Regions from separate parts of the Homo sapiens genome. Here region 1 is linked to region 2. Evidence: promoter capture Hi-C in 16 types of primary human blood cells and fetal thymus (Javierre and others, 2016). All regions are on one chromosome and are shown on one strand. Each heading gives the region's core, a stretch centred on a gene start or on the middle of the fragment in contact. The rest is flanking DNA. Distances are from core to core; before and after follow the strand shown.

Evidence for each region. Contacts are between HindIII fragments. The CHiCAGO score rates a contact against its expected background, and 5 or more counts as called.
Region 1: a contact is called between a fragment that was not itself captured here and the fragment with the promoter of ITGA10 in region 2, in 8 of 17 cell types (non-activated CD4 T cells, neutrophils, naive B cells and 5 more). The highest score is 8.7, in non-activated CD4 T cells.

Annotation. Positions count from the first base shown.
Region 1 is chr1:146,050,249-146,054,502 of GRCh38, reverse strand. It overlaps RNVU1-6 (RNA, variant U1 small nuclear 6), which reads left to right and starts at 2,259; the gene lies at 2,259-2,422. It overlaps LINC01719 (long intergenic non-protein coding RNA 1719), which reads right to left and starts at 1,907. Exons shown (of 3, transcript NR_125968.1): 1 at 1,555-1,907. RefSeq lists enhancers at 1,589-2,320, 2,321-3,049 and a silencer at 2,170-2,409. The HindIII fragment of the contact is 874 bases long and covers 1,834-2,707 here.
Region 2 is chr1:145,907,565-145,911,794 of GRCh38, reverse strand. It overlaps ITGA10 (integrin subunit alpha 10), which reads left to right and starts at 1,745. Exons shown (of 30, transcript NM_003637.5): 1 at 1,745-1,832. The coding sequence starts at 1,781. It overlaps PEX11B (peroxisomal biogenesis factor 11 beta), which reads left to right. Exons shown (of 4, transcript NM_003846.3): 4 at 1-445. The HindIII fragment of the contact is 6,999 bases long and covers 1-4,208 here.

The DNA of each region.
Region 1 (4,254 bases), core at 1,021-3,520, 140 kb before region 2:
GTCCTTTCCTGAGGAAGGAACTCAGATAAAACAAATGTAAGTTTGTTTTATAGAATGGCTTGACCTCAGGAGTTTGAAACCAGCCTGGGCAATATGGTGAAACCCTGTCTCTACCAAAATACAAAAAGAAAAAGAGGGTTGCTTCCAAGATGGCTGAATAGGAACAGCTCCGGTCTACAGCTTCAAGTGAGATAGACGCAGAAGACAGGTGATTTCTGCATTTCCAACTGAGGTACCTGGTTCATCTCACTGGGACTCGTTGGACAGTGGATGCAGCCCACGGAGGATGAGCCAAAGCAGGGTGGGGTGTCGCCTCACCCGGGAAGTGCAAGGGGTTGGGGGATTTCTTTTTCCTAGCCAAGGGAAGCTGTGAGTGACTGTACCTCGAGAAGCAGTACACCCCTGCCCAAATACTGTGCTTTTTTCCACTGTCTTTGCAACCGACAGACCAGGAGATTCCCTCTTGTGCCTGGCTCGGCAGGTCCCATGCCCATGGAGCCTTGCCTGCTGCTAGCACAGCAGTCTGAGATCAACCTGTGACACTGGAGCATGGCAGGGGGAGGGGGTTCTGCCACTGCTGAGGCTTGAGTATGTGGTTCTATGGTCACAGTGTAAATAAAGTGGTAGGGAAGCTCGAACTGGGTAGAGCCCACTGCAGCTCAGCAAGGCCTACTGCCTCTAGATTCCACCTCTGGGGGCAGGGCATATCTGAATAAAAGGCAGCAGACAGCTTCTGCAGACTTAAACGTCCCTGCCTGACAGCAGGGACTGCTGTCATAATCATTATGATTATGAATCATAATCATGAAGACAATCTGTATTCCAGAATAGTAAGGGAACCTATTCCATCAGGGAGCCAACTGAAAACATCAAATCCCAGTTCACACCCCAGGGTGTGGTGTCATGCACCTGTAGTCCCAGCTACTTGGGAGGATTAGTAAGGAGGTTTGCTTGAATTCGTGAGGTCAAGGCAGAAGTAAACCCTGATCATGCCACTGTACTCCAACCTGGGCGACAGTGAGACCTTGTCTCAGAAACAAACAAACAAACAAAAAACCCCACAAAACCAAACAACAACAAATTGTCACCTCATTCTGAAATGACAGTGGCAAACATCACTTTGCTATTTGAAAATTAAAAGAAGCCGGGCGCGGTGGCTCACGCCTGTAATCCCAGCACTTTGGGAGGCCGAGGTGGGCGGATCACAAGGTCAGGAGATCGAGACCATCCTGGCTAACAGAGTGAAACCCCATCTCTACTAAAAATACAAAAAATTAGCCGGACGTGGTGGCAGGTGCCTGTAATCCCAGCTACTGGGGAGGCTGAGGCAGGAGAATGGCGTGAACCCGGGAGGCGGAGCTTGCAGTGAGCCGAGATAGCCCCACTGCACTCCAGCCTGAGCGAAGAGCGCGAGACTCCGTCTCAAAACAAAAAAAAAGAAAATTAAAAGAAAAACACTCCCTCTTGCTATCAACCTGCCCTCTTGCTCTAACTTGTCTGACCCATGGTTTAAAATGCCCAAAAGCTGATGTACTCAAATTATAGTACACTTACCTGTTCTGCACCAGCATTTACTTTTGTCTGGAGGAGATCACCATGCATGGTCCTATACATGTCTAATGGCATGGAATGATGAAGGGTAGTGTCTTTTAGGATAGTTGGATACATATATATATATATATATATATATATATATATATATATGCGGAATGCTACATCACAAGAATAAGAATGTGAAAAGAACCAGTTTCTTTTGTAATCCTAAACGTTCTAGTCTGAGAATTAAAAGCCATTGTTCGAAGAAGGGTGCCCAGGGTCCAGCTGGTCGCCGAAAGCTTGCTCCGCAATACAGGCTAAGGACCAGCTTCTTTGGAAGAGAACAGATGAGGGAAGCAGGAGAGAAAAAAGGGAGAGGCAGACGTCACTTCCCCTTGCCGGCTCCGGCAGCGGGTTGGTCGGCTGAGCGGCAGAAAGGCAGACGGGGACTGGGAAAGGCGCTGTCGGTGACATCACGGATAGGGCGACTTCTATGTAGATGAGCCAGCGCAGGGGCTGCTGCTTCGCCACATGCTGCTTCGCCACGAAGGAGTTCCCGTGCCGTGGGAGCGGGTTCAGGACCGCTGGTCGGACCTGAGAGTCCCAGCTGTGTGTCAGGGCTAGGAGGGCTGGGGGGGAGGGGGGTGTGCGCGGGGCAAGTGACCGTGCGTGTAAAGGGTGAAGCGTGTGAGGCTGCCGGCGGGGCGGAGGTGCAATAACTCATACTTACCTGGCAGGAGAGATACCCTGGTCACGAAGGTGGTTTTTCCAGAGCGAGTCTTATCCATTGCACTCCGGATCTGCTGACCCCTGCAGTTTCCCCAAATGTGGGAAACTTGACTGTATAATTTGTGGCAGTGGTAGACTGCATTCGCGCTTTCCCCTGTATTTTTGTCGTTTTAAAAATAGGTTTTGTTTGCTGCAGAAACGCATACTGGGCGTCAGCGTAAGCTGAGAATCAGGTCTTTGTTCCCATCTGTAACTTCACTGAAACTAAAAATTTGGGACATCGTGGTTCTCACGTTTGTAATCCCAGCAATCTATGAGGTACGTCGATAGGTTATGTTTATGTTAATATCGCTCGACCTCAGGCGTGTGTGGGCAAATATAGTGAACCCGTCTCTACTAATCTCTTATCTTTTTTTGTTGTTGTTCTATAGAAATAAAACTAAGCTTTTCTTTTCCCTATGGGATTAACAGCAAACAGTCCGCTGGAGTGTATGGCGCGATCTCGCCTTACTGCAACCTTTGCCTCCTGCGTTCAAGCTATTCTCCTTCCTCAACCAGAGAATACTCAGCCTCCCGAGTAACTGGCATTACAGGCTCAGGCAACCAAAAAATTAGGTCCGGCTAATTTTTTGAATTTTTAGTAGAGACATGGTTTCACCGGGCCGGGCGCACTGGCTCGCGCCTGTAATCCCAGCACTTTGGGAGGCGGAAGCGGGTGGATCATGAGGTCAGGAGGTCAAGACCATCCTGGCTAACACAGTGAAACCCCATCTCTAATAAAAATACAAAAAAAAAAAATTAGCCGGGTGTGGTGGCACGTGCCTGTAGTCCCAGCTACTCAGGAGGCTGAGGCAAGAGAATCGCTTGAACCCGGGAGGCAGAGGTTGCAGTGAGCTGAGATCGCACCACTGCACTCCAGCCTGGGCGACAGAGTGAGACTCCGTCTCAAAAAAAAAAAAAAAAAAAAAGAGTGACAGGGTTTCACCATGTTGGCCACCCTGGTCTTGAACTCCTGACCTCAAGTTTTCCGCCTGCCTCGCGGCCTCCCAAAATGTTGGGATTACAGGCCTGAGCCACCGCACCTGGCCTGTTTACAGACTTTACAGACACATTTTGTTTACAAGCTTTACAGGTACAGTTCAATTGCGATTAGTGTATATTATGTTTGGCCCAAGACAAGTGTCTTTTTTTTTTTTCCAGTGTGGCCCAAGGAAGCCAAAATTTAGACAACCCTGCTCTAGAGGGTTTGATTCATGGTTCCACTGGGTTATGCTTATTGCCTATAATTCCATTTGATATTTTCCAAATTTGATTTTTTAAAAAGCGTTTTCCTGAAGCACCCTAAAGCTTTCCTAATAATATGAGAACTTAAACCAGATTGGATGTGACAAAACCCTGCTGGAATCCTGCAACTTCTAACCTTAATGTTAGATCAAGAAGCAAAACACCCACCAGTCCAAGGGTCAGGGAAGCTGAAGATCATGCCTGAGCTGTAACAACGCCCTTCCCAGTATACAAAAGAGTGTAACAGCCACTCGAATTCTATCTTCCAAGTGTCTCCTGTTGCCCAGGCTAACCTAGAGCTATCTAAAGATGGCAAATCTGGGAAATGTGCATTCAGCTTGGCAAAACTGATACATTACAAATCCACCACAGTCCACTTCTTCTCAAAGTGGCATCAATGTACATCTTCCTCCTCTTCTTTTTTTCCTCCTCTTCCTCTTCTTTTGCTTCTTCCTCCTCCTTTTTCCTCCTTGTAAAATCATACTTAAGGTTCAAATAAAGACAATATGAAAATCATACTTTTTCTCATTCAGTGAAAATATGCCAACCCTTTCCCCAACAGGATAAAGTCTTTGTCTTTGAATGATGTTCACTCCTTTTTTAGCTAGATAGATCACATTCCATATTTGCTTTCCTGTAACCTAAATATTGAGATTTCTAAAAGTTAATTATTAATGAATGTGCTAGCTAGGGTGATGGAAGAGG
Region 2 (4,230 bases), core at 496-2,995:
GATAGGGGAGGTATAAGGTTTGGCCTGTAAGGTTCTAACTGCCTTCTTTTTTCTCACAGAGGTGGCTTATGGCAGATTTTTCCTCCTTCAAACTCCAAACATAATTTTTAAGACTATGTGCCAGTGGACTCTTCCCTTATATCTCTGCACCACAAGTTGTTGGATGTTTCCTCTTCCTCCCTTATGTCTACCTCACCAACCTCGCTCATCATTTGGCCCTTATCCTTCCTTGTACACCTACCTTCAGATTTCTGCTTACACTTTGATTTCAGAGCTTTATTCCCCAGTCTGTTCTTACTCCTTTGTCGCTTATCCAGAATGATGCTATGTGTAGCATCTTGCTGTAAATCCTGTACAATGATTCTGTGTAAATAGCTGTGGCCTATGCCAATAATGAAGAGCAAGCCTTTCAGGTAAGCAAATTAAAGTTCAGTTTGCTCATCGACATTTGGTCTGGTCCCTCATTTTTTGGTAATTTGAGGCCCCTATTCCTGTCACTGTGGTTTGGGTTTTTCTCGGGATTAGCCACTAACATCACCCACATTATTTTTCTTGAGCACCTACAGTATGTAAAGCAACATACTTAGTGGGCATCCAAAAATCTAAGAAGCTCCACACTCCCAACTTTAAGAAGTTTATAACCTAGCTGAGGAGTTGGGGTGGCAGAGGAGTGGTCTAATACTAAAGTTATTGTCCTGGCTCCACAAAGCACATCTCATACCAGTTCAGATATAATCCCTCTAAGAAGCAGAATGCCATATGACAGCATAGGCTAAGAGCCAAGGACAGAACCAAGTGGAGTGGGGCTGGTAAGGATTTGGAGCTGTGTCTTCACAAGTTGAGACTCCCCTGGGTGGGTAGGGAAATGATACCACTGCTATCAGCTCTTTCATTTTCCATATTCCAGGTTGAGATAAATAAGGTTAGGAAGTGAATCTATCGGCCAGGCGTGGTGGCTCACGCCGGTAATCCCAGCACTTTGGGAGGCCGAGGCAGGTGGATCTCTTAAGGTCAGGAGTTCAAGACCAGCCTGGCCAACATGGTGAAACCCTGCCTCTACTAAAAATAAAAAATTAGCCAGGCATGGTGGCATGTGCCTGTAGTCCCAGCTACCTGGGAGGCTGAGGCATGAGAAATGCTTGAACGTGGGAGACAGAGGTTGCAGTGAGCCAAGATTGTGCCACTGCACTCCAGCCTGGGTGACAGAGTGAGACTCTGCCTTAAAAAAGAAAAAAAAAAATCTGAATCTATCTCCTATCTCCCAGCTGGGTGCAGTGGCTCACTTTGGGAGGCTGAGGTGGGAGGATTCCTTGAGTTCAGGAGTTCAAGACCAGCCTGGGTAACATAGTGAAACCCTGTCTGTATTCTCAATATAAATAATTTGTCTAAAACTTTTAAACAAAAGTTTAAGATTCTTTTCTTATAAAAAAGAATCCATCTCCCACTCCTGTTCCAAATTTGAGGAAAGCATTATTGACCTGGCAACAATAAACAGTAGAAAAAAAGAAATAGCAGAAATGGGCAAAAAAATATGTTCTCTGGATATAGAGATGAGGCCTCCAGGGGGCAGCACCAAGGCAGAGAAATAGACTAAGATCGCTCAGTGTTTTCCTTGGTCTGGGGCTCCCCACAGTTCCCCACCATCACTCCTCCCATTCCTTCCAACTTTATTTTTAGCTGCCATTGGGAGGGGGCAGGATGGGAGGGAAAGTGAAGAAAACAGAAAAGGAGAGGGACAGAGGCCAGAGGACTTCTCATACTGGACAGAAACCGATCAGGCATGGAACTCCCCTTCGTCACTCACCTGTTCTTGCCCCTGGTGTTCCTGACAGGTGAGGGAAGTTAACTTCTTGGTTTCTGGTGGGGATGGAAGATACATAGATTGTTTGGAATTGGGACCATTATAGTTAAAATTCTTTGGGATTTAGGTTAGGAAGCGAACACTGGTTGTACATTTCTTGTATGTGTGTCTGTGTCCTTGTGCATTTTTATGCCCTCACATATGACTGTTTGAATATTGAGACTGGCAGGGGCTAAAGCTGCCTAGGACCTTGTGTAAGATTTGTATCTAATAATTATATAATATATAATGTATAATTATATATTATATATAATATACATATAATATATAACAATTATATATTATATATAATATACATATAATATATAACATAATTATATATTATATATAATATACATATAATATGTAACATAATTATATATTATATATAATATACATATAATATATAACATAATTATATATTATATATAATATACATATAATATATAACATAATTATATATTATATATAATATACATATAATATATAACATAATTATATATTATATAGTTATATATTGTATATAATAATTATTATTATTTTTTAAAGATAGGGTCTCACTTTGTTGTCTAGGCTGGAGTGCAGTGGTGCAACCACAGCTCAGTAGTTGGGACTACTAGGTACGCGCCACCACGCACAGCTAATTTTTTTTTTTGAAACAGGGTCTCACTCTGTCATTCAAGCTGGAGTGCAGTGGCATGATCATGGCTCACTCTAGCCTCAACCTCCCAGGCTGAGGTGATCCTTCCACCTTAGCCTCCCGAGTAGCTGGGACTATAGGCGTGTGCTACCACGCCTGGCTAATTTTTTTTTTTTTAGAGACAGAGTTTTGCTATGTTGGCCAGGCTGGTCTTTAACTCCTGGACTCAAGCAATCCGCCCCCGACAGCCACCCAAAGTGCCGGGATTATAGGCATGAGCCACCATGCTTGGCTGAGATTTGTATCTAAATATATAAAATCTTCATCCTAAGCCCTATAGGGGTAAGGAGACAAAAAAGAAATGTGATGTGACCTTCCACGTGGCTAGTCTGATTCCTATTATCCCCTCCCTAACTTCTTACCCTTGGTGGTCCCTGGGGCCTGAGGCATAACTGACTAACTATGTGGTCAGAACTCTGGGTTTATCTAACCAATGAGCTGCAGTTTCTGGTCATACAGCCCTGCCAGTTTTCTGGATGCAAAACTGCTCACATACTAAACACCTTTCTGAAAATGAGCATGGTTTGGGATAAAGCTATAGCCATTGGTAATGGTGAGGGGGTAGCCTGAGAGGGGGTTGCTTAGAAGTACAGAGCAAGACATAGTTGGGGAAAGGACCATGGGAAGGACAAGAGGCCTGGAATTTTTCCTTGGCAGTGCCCTGTAATCATTGTTTCCTAAAATACCAGCTCTGATTTTAAAGGCATTGGGGTCAAAAGGGAAGATTAGCTAGGGTCGGGCACCTTTAGAATGGGCTGAAGGCTGAGGAAACCATGGAGGTAGGTAGGGGACCAGTTGGGAGAGTAGATTAGTTAAAAAGGAAGCAGGTTGTGGGAAACTTCAGGATGATGGGACCCTTGGAAAGGATGGATGGCAAACTATGTGTGTGGGCAGGCGAGTGGCCCCACCCAGTTAATTACCACTGAGATTTCCAAGGCTGGAATCAACCAGGGACCTAGACATTGGAAAAAGACAGTGAGAGTGTGACAATGACACTGGAAGTCAGGAAGAGATAGAGAAGGAGAGAGCCAGACATGCAGTGCTCCTTAGCTTCCTTTCATTCCCCCTATTTTGGGGAGAATTGGAAGCAATGGTTGTTCTGGGGATACAGAAAGGCCCTCTCCCTCTTTTGACCCTCACAGTTTGTTGAGGAGAGTGTGTGGAAGGAATGTTGTGGAAAAGAGTAGCCAGGCGCGGTGGCTCACGCCTGTAATCCCAGCACTTTGGGAGGCCGAGGCGGGCGGATCATGAGGTCAGGAGATCGAGACCATCCTGGCTAACACGGTGAAACTCCGTCTCTACTAAAAATAAGAAAAATTAGCCGGGCGAGGTGGCAGGCGCCTGTAGTGCCAGCTACACGGGAGGCTGAGGCAGGAGAATGGCGTGAACCCAGGGGGGCGGAGCCTGCAGTAAGCCGAGATCACGCCACTGCACTCCAGCCTGGGCGACAGAGAGACTCCGTCTCAAAAAAAAAAAAAAAAAAAAAAAAAAAAAAGTAACTTGACCTTTTCAGACATGTCTGTGAATGAAATTTCAGGGGTGGGAATGGAAATACAGCTGTACATCAGCATGGCAGAGGGCCACAGTTTAGGCATCTGGACACAAACACAGGAAGGGAATCATCTTTGCCTGGAGCTCTGAGTACATGACACTGAGAGAGGCCAGAAAAGCTTATGAGTGAAAAAGCAGG